Regions from separate parts of the Homo sapiens genome. Here regions 1 and 3 are each linked to region 2. Evidence: promoter capture Hi-C in 16 types of primary human blood cells and fetal thymus (Javierre and others, 2016). All regions are on one chromosome and are shown on one strand. The core of a region is centred on a gene start or on the middle of the fragment in contact, and the rest is flanking DNA. Distances in the headings are between cores, read along the strand shown.

What was found. The method cuts DNA at HindIII sites, captures the fragments that hold promoters and counts their contacts. A CHiCAGO score of 5 or more calls a contact.
Region 1: a contact is called between the fragment with the promoter of SDHAF1 here and the fragment with the promoter of FFAR3 in region 2, in 5 of 17 cell types (neutrophils, M0 macrophages, monocytes and 2 more). The highest score is 10.9, in neutrophils.
Region 3: the fragment with the promoter of LINC01801 here is called in contact with the fragment with the promoter of FFAR3 in region 2 in 5 of 17 cell types (non-activated CD4 T cells, fetal thymus, total CD4 T cells and 2 more); the score reaches 7.7 in non-activated CD4 T cells.

The regions. Positions count from the first base shown.
Region 1 is chr19:35,993,778-35,996,807 of GRCh38, reverse strand. SDHAF1 (succinate dehydrogenase complex assembly factor 1) reads right to left here and starts at 1,620. Exons shown (of 1, transcript NM_001042631.3): 1 at 496-1,620. The coding sequence starts at 1,533. The coding sequence ends at 1,186. RefSeq lists silencers at 1,164-1,283, 1,314-1,373 and enhancers at 1,434-1,513, 1,774-1,823, 2,158-2,657. The HindIII fragment of the contact is 4,511 bases long and covers 475-3,030 here.
Region 2 is chr19:35,357,085-35,360,214 of GRCh38, reverse strand. It overlaps FFAR3 (free fatty acid receptor 3), which reads right to left and starts at 1,755. Exons shown (of 2, transcript NM_005304.5): 1 at 1,566-1,755; 2 at 1-1,335. The coding sequence starts at 1,324. The coding sequence ends at 284. RefSeq lists an enhancer at 1-434. The HindIII fragment of the contact is 8,969 bases long and covers 1-3,130 here.
Region 3 is chr19:34,831,412-34,834,166 of GRCh38, reverse strand. LINC01801 (long intergenic non-protein coding RNA 1801) reads left to right here and starts at 1,298. Exons shown (of 6, transcript NR_033982.1): 1 at 1,298-1,442; 2 at 1,631-1,837. The HindIII fragment of the contact is 2,823 bases long and covers 971-2,755 here.

The DNA.
Region 1 (3,030 bases), core at 371-2,870, 640 kb before region 2:
GTCTAGGGCAGGCCCATATGGGGACACCGGAGGGAGTATATCTGTGATCTATGGGGTTCATCTCCCCTCTCCTGCCCCAGGGCCTTGTCGTTCACTGTAGCTGAGGCTGGACCCTTCAGCCAGGTTTGAGAAATTTCCAGGTCTGAGACCCTCACTACTGCCTCAGGGGCTCCGAGCCAGTTCTCAGCTCCACCATTTCCTCTTCCACACAAAGATGTTAAATCACTTGCCCTCCATTAGGGAGCCAACTGGGGTATCTTTGGGGGTTAAGCCAGGATGAGCCCCCTCCACAGATCTGCCCAGGGGAGAAAACTATGCCGCTTCAATCAATGTGCCAGTCTACAGGGCTCCGGAAGGAGTCAGATCCCCACACCTATCACCTCCCAGATGGTCCCTTCCAGGTGTCTGTGTGCGTGTGTGTGTGGTGGCAGGGGGGCTGGGGGTGTTTCAAAAATCCTGAAATATATAAAAGCTTTAAGACCACCAACAGGGAAGTAGACATATCCCCAATTTTATTCCCTTTGTCCAACATTCCGAGAGGGAAGGGGCAAATGAGTCAATGTTGCCCCTCAAAACCATCAAGTAGGGGCCTTTGGGGGTCTTCAGTTGATCAACCAGGGTGATAGACCCCTACCCCTTCCTCATGGTCCTGGCTTGTCACAATTAATGGGGGAAAGTTTTCCAGAAGGGGATTCCGGGCTTCTCACCGCTCATCAGGGCACCTTCCCAAAACGTTCTCAGCAAAAAGTCTGCACTTCTCAGAGTTAAATACAGGAGAGGGGAGACTCCTTGAGGAGCCAGAAGTGGGTATGTTCTCAGGGGTCAAGAGAAGGGCGTCTCAGGCTCTCCCTGTCCACCGGGGGTCGTCCTGGCTCCCCGTACCTTCGGGCAAGTAGCTCTTGGCTTGACACTGTCCAGCCCGCCAGCGTCCCAGGCCGCCCCAAGCCCTCATGGGGGAGGAGCACCGACCTGTCTCCAAGCATCGGAAAAGGCGGGCCTCCCTTGCCGTCCATCACGGGGCTCTCTAGGCCCCCTGCGTCGCCAAGGAGGAGTCTCTGACATCCCCAATTCGTCAAGCTAGTCTCTTAAGACCTCTCACCTTAGGCGGGTTCCCCAGTCCCCCCATGCAGTCAGGCGAGCCTCCTGGCTCCACCACGCCATCGAGCGAGTTCGGCTCTTCGCCTGTCACCGTCCGTCGGGGCGGGTCTCCGGTGCCCCCGTGCTGTCGTGGGGGTTCCTTGGACTGTCGCCGTCGTCAGGCTGGCAACCCACGCCGCCAGGCTCCCCGGTCGGGGCCCGCGGGCGTACGAAGGCGCCCATGGCGGTGGCGTGGCCCGAGCGTAGCAGCTGCAGCTGGCGCCGCCCGCGGCGGTACAGGTACTCGATGCGCAGCACGTCGGACCGCGGCAGGCCCGCATGCTGCCGGAACTCTGCCCGCACTCGCGCCTCGGCGCCCGGCTTCCCACGCCCGGCGCGCAGCAGATCGCGGTACAGGCTCAGAACCTGCCTCTGCAGCCGGCTGTGCCGGCTCATGACCGCGGCTAAGCAGAGACGCTCAGCGAACGACCTGCGAACCGCGGAGCCGCCACACAGCCAGCAAAGGCCAAAGGGCAAAGCCACAGCCACTTCCGCCCAGCGCTTCCCTTGGCCTCCAACTCCCGCCTCCCGCCATCCGGCGCTGCCGCGTCTGACTGGCTGTCGTTGCAGTTACGTAACAGCCGGCTGGGAGAAGTGGGCGGAGTCGCTGGTCGCGGCCTCCCACGTAGGGGACGTGTGTTCTTGAGGGGACAGCAGTTCTGGGGATCCTGGCACCGCCTGGAGGGCGTTATGTGTTCGGACTCCTAGGTCTTGGGTTGGAGGGAACAGAGGGTCCTCACCTAACTCCTGCATTCTGGGAGAAGAGGAAGCTAGGGGTTTTTTTGTGTGTGACGGGGTCTCGCTGTCGCCCAGGCTGGAGTGCAGTGGCGCGATCTTGGCTCACTGCAGCCTCGAACTCCTGGGCCCAAGCGATCCTCCCACCTCAACTCCCCTAGTAGCTGGAACCACAGACGCGCGCAACCGCGCCCGCTATTTATTTATTTATTTATTTATTTATTTATTTATTTATTATTATTATTATTTGCAGAGATGGGTCTCCCTATGTTGCCCAGAATGGCTCGAACTCCTGGGCTCAAACGATTCTCAGCCTCCCAAAGTGTTGGGATTCCAGGCGTGAGCCACCGCGCCCGGCTACCGGTTCGGACTTTGGGTCCCAAGGGCACGGGGCACTGGGAGAGACGCCGGGCACAAGCGTGCTTTTGCCGTCAGTTACTGATTCAAACCATCTTGGGAAGCTCCGTGCGTTCCCTCGTCCGGGGCAGGTCTGTGTCTGGGGTCCCAGCCCTGGGCACGTGCAGAGGGACGAGACCCCGTAGGGAAATGGCTCTCGGCCGGTTGGACAGGCTTCTCGGGCCAGGGGAAGACAAGCAGAGAGAGTGTGGGCGCCAAGCCCCCAGAGGCAGCGTGTGGCTCTAGGAGCTGGGTTGGTCGCGCCCTCTGCGGGTGGGAGTCGGGGCAGTGGACAGCGGTGTTTGGGTCCTTACCGACTGTTAAAGCCCGGAGTCCGGGACACCCTGAACAGTCGACTAGACTGCAACCCCGTTGTCCTCCCAGGAGCTTTAGGTGGTAGGCCGCAATGCCGTTGTTGTCCCCGCGGGCCGCCTGGAGGTGTCCTCGTAGCGCTAGGGAGGCCCGCAAGGACACAGCATCCTCGGGCCCCACCAGCACCGGAGCTTGGGGGACCCCTCCACCCAGCGCGCAACCGCGGCTCTGCACACTTGGGCCGGCAACCAGCTGGGGGGTCCATTCCCCTTCAGAGAGGAGAAGCTGGTCAGGGGCGGGGATTAGGCTTGGAGTCTTGGAGTCAGGGGAGAATCACAAACCACTGTGAATCCTGCCTGGCAGGTGTATGTATCTATCAAAAATACATGTCCTAGAACGGTGGCTCACACCTGTAATTCCAGCACTTTTGGAGGCCGAGGCGGGCGGACC
Region 2 (3,130 bases), core at 506-3,005:
AGAAAACACAGGAGCTGCCTGCTGCTATGAGGACCTCATTGTTCTCCAGAGCAGCCTCTCACCCTGACCCCTTCCCAGAGCCCAATCCATAGTGTGTGGGTGGATGGGGATGGAGGTGAGATCGAGAGCTGGGCTTTAGCGCGCATACCCTTAGGGAGGCTAGATGTCTACTCTGCCCCCAAGCCCCATCGGGCCCCAGCTCGCCACTCCAAGTCCCTCCTGGCGTGAGCGAGGAAGCGCCCTGAGGATGACATGCCAGCTACACCCTCCTCCCCCGGAGGACCTAGCTTTCAGCACAGGCCACCTGGCCACCAGTTCCACAGCCCTGTGAGTGTTCACTGGTCTTTCTTTCAGCTGGTCGGTCCGCTCTCTGCTCCTCCCCTCCCTTCTGCTCCTTCAGCTCCATGCTGCTCTCCTGCTGCCACTGGCCCCAGAGCCCACACAACCTCCTCAGCAGCTCATGAAAGTCGGCTTGGAACCCGGAGGAGGAGAAGTAGTAGACAAAGGGGTCGACACAGGAGTTCAGGGTGCTGAGAAGCGTCACGTAGATCCTCCACGCCGGGCTTTCACCGCAGATATAGCCCACGACATGGGACACGTTGTAGGGCCCAAAGCAGACAAGGAAGTTGAGCAGCGTGGCCGCCAACAGCCCCGCCACCCTCCTCTGCCGGCGGTGGCTGCCCCCTCTGCCGAGGATCCACACCAGGCGGCTGTAGCAGTAGCTGGTGATGATCAGCGGGACCACAAAGAGGACCACAGCCATCTCCAGCCGCACGGGCAGGAGGATGGCTAGCTGGTCCTTCCGGAACTCCAGGTAGCAGGTCCCATTGGTGCCCTGGCTGTGGGAGATGTCCCCTGAGAATTCTATGACGTAGACCACGCTGCAGTGAGCAGAGGCCAACAGCCAGCAGGCCACACTCACCAGACCTGCCTGCCCCAGCCTCGGCCGGGTCTTGTACCACAGTGGGTGGGCCACACTCAGGAAGCGTTCAATGCTCACAGCTGCCAGGAAGAGGGCGGTGAGATAGATGGTGGTGAAGAAGATGAATCCAGAGAGTGGGCAGAGGATGAAGGGCAGGGGCCAGTGCATGCCATTGGCTGCCTCCACCATGCGGAAAGGCAGGAACAGCAGCAGGAGCAGGTCCGAGGCGGTCAGGTTGAGCAGGAGCACGTCCACGGCCACCGGGCGGCGCTGCAGCTTGCCCACGAAGACCACCAGGGCCAGCAGGTTGAGGGGGAGCCCCACCAGGAAAGTGAGAAGGTACACCGAGAAGACGAACCAGTGATTGCCGGAGAAGTAGGACTGGTCGGGGCCTGTATCCATGGTGGTGGCCACTGGTGAGAGAGAGTAACATGGAGTTGGTAGTGGGGGCCCTAACGGCCTCTGGCCAGCAGCATCTCCCCTAAAAGGGCACGAGGTCACTACGCCCACCCCTCTTGTCTCTGGGTGCCTTCCAGGCGGGGTCAGCCTGCCTGTCTTCCTGAGCATGCCCTGTCCCCTGTCCCTTCCCCAGCAGAGAAGCACCAAGGTGCTCCTCCACCCAGCCCCTCGGGCCCAGGCTCACCTGCTTCTTTGAGACCCCAAATGCTCTGCCGCACAGCACCTTGCTGTCTCTCCAGACCTAGTGCAGTTGGCTATTTATCCGGCAGAACTGATAAAGACCTGGCCGTGCCCATGACGTCACTCACTGTTGAGCAGTGGCACATAGATGCCTTGAGCTCCGTTGCCAGGGCTGGTCAGCATGCTAAAAGGGGAACAAATTCCACAACTGCGTGCCTCCCTCCTCATGCAGTCTCAGCTGGGATGCTCTAAGCAGGCCCCAGCCGACGTCTTCCTCTCCCCTTCTTCACTTGAATTTTGTCTGCTTCTCTAGAATGGCATTTATCCAATTTGCCTTGTAAGGGCAGGAAGTGTGATGCAATGACAGAGAGCGAGCTCCGTGAGGTCTGTTTCTTCCTGACTTTGTGATTTGGGGGAAATGACTTAAATTCTCCATGTTTCTGCTTTCTCCCCTGCAGAACAGAGCTCATCATAATACCCATCTCATAGATCAACGCATTAACACATGCAAATTAAAACAATATGTAGGTCGATTAAAAGATTACTAATACATGTTGAGTGGTTTGACGGAAGCCTGGCGTGTGGTCGTGAGCAGGCAGCGGATGCCAGCTGCTATTTTCCCTGTCACTGGTGCAGGATTATCTCTGGGGTGACAATGTAATAATAATAACAATAATAATGGTGGTGGCGATGATGACAGCAGCTGCCTTTTCATGGGCACATAATCCATAGCAGACACTGCTTCTAGGGCAACGCTTTTATGTCATAAAATCCTTGTCCTTCACCGTAGGGAAGTGACTTGCTCCAGGTGATACAGCTTGTGAAATGTCACCACTAGGGTTCAAACCCAAGTGCTGTCCAGTTTCACAGGTGATCTATTAGTTCATTCAAACAATCACAGGGCACAATGAGATATGATTTCACATCCACTAGAATGGCCACAAGCAAAAAGTCAGACAATGCCTATGGTCGGCGAGAATGTAGAGAGATAGGGGCCTCATTCACTGCTGGTGAGAATAATGGGAGGTGGTGTCCCTGCTTTGGAAAGCAGGTGGCAGTTGCTTAAAAAGTTAAACATAAATTCACCATGCGATCCAACAATTCCACCGTAGGTATTTACTTAAGAGAAGTGGAAACTCAGGTCTACTTAAAGACTCAGTCCTAAATGTTCACAGCAGTGTTGGTCATAGTCACCAACAGTGGAAATGTTACCTGGCAGCCCATCAGCTGGTGAGTGAATAAAAAAGTGGCACATCCATATACTGGAATTCTATTTGGCAAAGAAAAGGAATGAGCTACCCATACACACTACAGCCTTATGTTGAGTGAAACAAGCCAGACGTAAAAGACCATGTACATATATTGTCAGATTTCATTTATTTATATGATATGTCCAGAATAGGCAAAGTTATAGAGTCAGAAAGTAGACTCGTGGTTGTCTGGGGGATGGAGGTAGAAATGAAGATTAAGTTGTTTTTTTTTTTTTTTTTTTTTTTTTGAGACAGGGTCTTGTTGTCGCCCAGGCTGGAGTGCAATGGTGCAATCTTGGCTCACTGCAAACTCTGCCTC
Region 3 (2,755 bases), core at 49-2,548, 530 kb after region 2:
AATAGGCAAAACTAATCTATAATGTTAAAAATTTGGGAGGGGCATAGTGACTAGGAATGAGCATGAGGTTGATTCTGAGGTGCCTGTGTTTTGCTTCTTGATCTAGATTACATAGGTTTGTTCATTCTGCAAAAATGTATTGAGGAATAGACAGATGATTTGTACACTTCTGTGTATGAATGTTATATTGTAAAGTTTCTTGAAGAATACCTGTTTACAAGAGTTAGAGAACATGGAAGCTCTTTCTCTGAGATAAAACATCTAAAAAGACAAAAATTAGCCGGGCGTGGTGGTGGGTGCCTGTAATCCCAGCTACTCGGGAGGCTGAGGCAGGAGAATGTCTTGAACCCGGGAGACAGAGGTTCTAGTGAACCAAGATCACACCACTGCACTCCAGCCTGGATGACAGAGGAAGACTCTGAGACTCCGTCACAAAAAAGAAAAAACAAACAAACAAACAAACAAAAAAGCCCTAAGTCATATCATGCCAGTCTCAGCAGTTTGAAACCCTCCATGGTTCCCATCTCTCAGTAAAAGGCAACGTTCTTATGACATCCTTCAAGGCCCCATGTAGTCTTTTGGTCCCTCTCCATCTCTGTCCTCCTGTCATCCACGTCTCCCACGTGCTGATTGGGTCTGGTAGGGTGACTGGGTGGCAAAGACCTCACAGAGGTGCCTTTCTGCTCAGGTGGCAAACAGGAGAGTCTATCTGGGCCCTGCAGGATGGATCCTTCCTGAGTCACTGAATATATTGGAGGTGCAGACAGCGCCAGAGAAAGGCATTGAGCCTGCCAGATCAGACACCGCCTCTTAGGGTCGACGGAACACCCAGGAGCAAAGACCAGAAATTGTGGGAGAAAGGCCTGGAAGGGGGCCGGGGAGAGGCACAGAGACAGCGAGGTGATGCAGGCTTGGTGGGAGCGGGTATGGTAGGCAATGGGGGACAGAGGGGCAGGGCACAGACAAAGCTTGCTGAAGATATGAAGAGCAATTGTGAGCCGGCGAATCCTTGGAGTAGAGGAGAAAATTGAGGTCTCCTGTTCAGCCCGATGCAGGTGAGATGCTGTTGGAACACGTGACAGAGAAAGGGTGTGTGAGCCCAGGGCTTGTGCACTAAGCGCACAGGAGCGAAGGGGGCGAGAAGAAAAAACGACGCCCAGCAAAGAGCGTCAAGGCCCAACCGCCTGCCCCCAACCGGTCTCTAGCGCCTCGTGACCTTCTGCACTCCGTTGCAGGCGTTTGGCACCAGATGGTCCCACGCGCTCTGTTCGACGGTTGGGGGCCGCGGACGCTGGTTGTCAGCAGCACTGGGTCAGCCGGTGAACGGGTGTGCAGCGTCCTCAGCGCCGCAGCAGTCAGCACCTGTGGGTGCTCTAGCTCTTTCCCTCGGGGTCACCGGAGGCAGAGCCTCCCCTACGCGGAGTAGAGGAGCAGCTCACATGGTGCGGGGGTGGGGATCGGGCTTCCTGGAAGGCTGGAAATGGGAGTTGGGATAAGGGGTTGGCGAGGGCGGGGCGGCACCGTCTACCGGGGTGACCGGTGTGCCCTGGCAGCCAGGGAGTCTGCTGCAGGGCAGGTATTAAGATTCGGAGAGACATAGGACAAAGAACCCTCGGCCTCTTCTTTTCAGGCAGCCGCCACAGAGGACACCAGATCATGCCAACACCCCCACAACTCCTGCCCGCCTGCAGGCAGCTCTGGGCTCAGGACACCGCCTGCAAGAACCTTTATAGCGCAGCTCTCCAAACCTTGGAGGCGAGGACATTCTATGTGCCCGCCCTGGAAAGGCCTGAACCTATAACATCTGGGCTGTGATGGTTTCTGAGGTGGACACCAGGTATTCTAAACTGCCCACATGCTTCACCCCAAAACTTCCCTTTCTAACAGGCAGTGTATTTTCACTTCTTTTAAAATATTTGGTAAAACAGCATTTAAGCCTTAGAAAGTTCCCCATCTCACCCCAGCCAGGGTTTGAACCCATGCTGTCTGATTCCACAGATCATGCATTTAACCACCAGACTTTGGTGTAGCCTCACCGTGTGTGCATAATGGATTACACTTGTTTATAATACTTGGGGTGCTTAGCACCATGTCAGAGCTGTAATGAGTACTTGCACTGTTAGGAGGTCTAACATGGTTCAATTTATAAGTGGACCATTGGCCACACCGGGTCTGGCTCAGTCTCCTGGGAGGATGTAGGCAGGGACCACCAATTATCAGCATATCTCCATGATGAATTTCTCCAGACAGCGTATCACTCTGTCACACAGGCTGGAGTCACAGCTCACTGCAACCTCGAACTCCTGGGCTCAAGAGATCCTCCCACCTCAGCTTCCCAAGTAGCTGAGACTGCAGGCATGCGCCACCACGCCTGATAATTTCTCTTCTAATTGAGCTTTGCAGAAAGCCACACAGCTGTCTGAGAGCTATTTTCTCCCAGGTATAGGGACAGGAAATGGCACCTCAGACTTCTGCAGATTCCACCCTGGCTTAAAAGCCCATGCCCCCAAGGACACCAATCTTTCTTACAATAACATAGACTATCTTTCAGGGTCCTGGCCAAGATGGACAACTTGCCAATATTAACTTTTCCAGGCCACAGGGATGATATATATCTCCATAGATTTAGGTCTTGAGTATTTTCTCCTAGAAATATTTCGCAGCAAGGGTCAGCACTGCAGCCTATGGGCCAACAAATTTAGCCTGTAGCCTACATGTAAGGCCAGTGAGTGAAGGATCCTATTAACAATTTTAA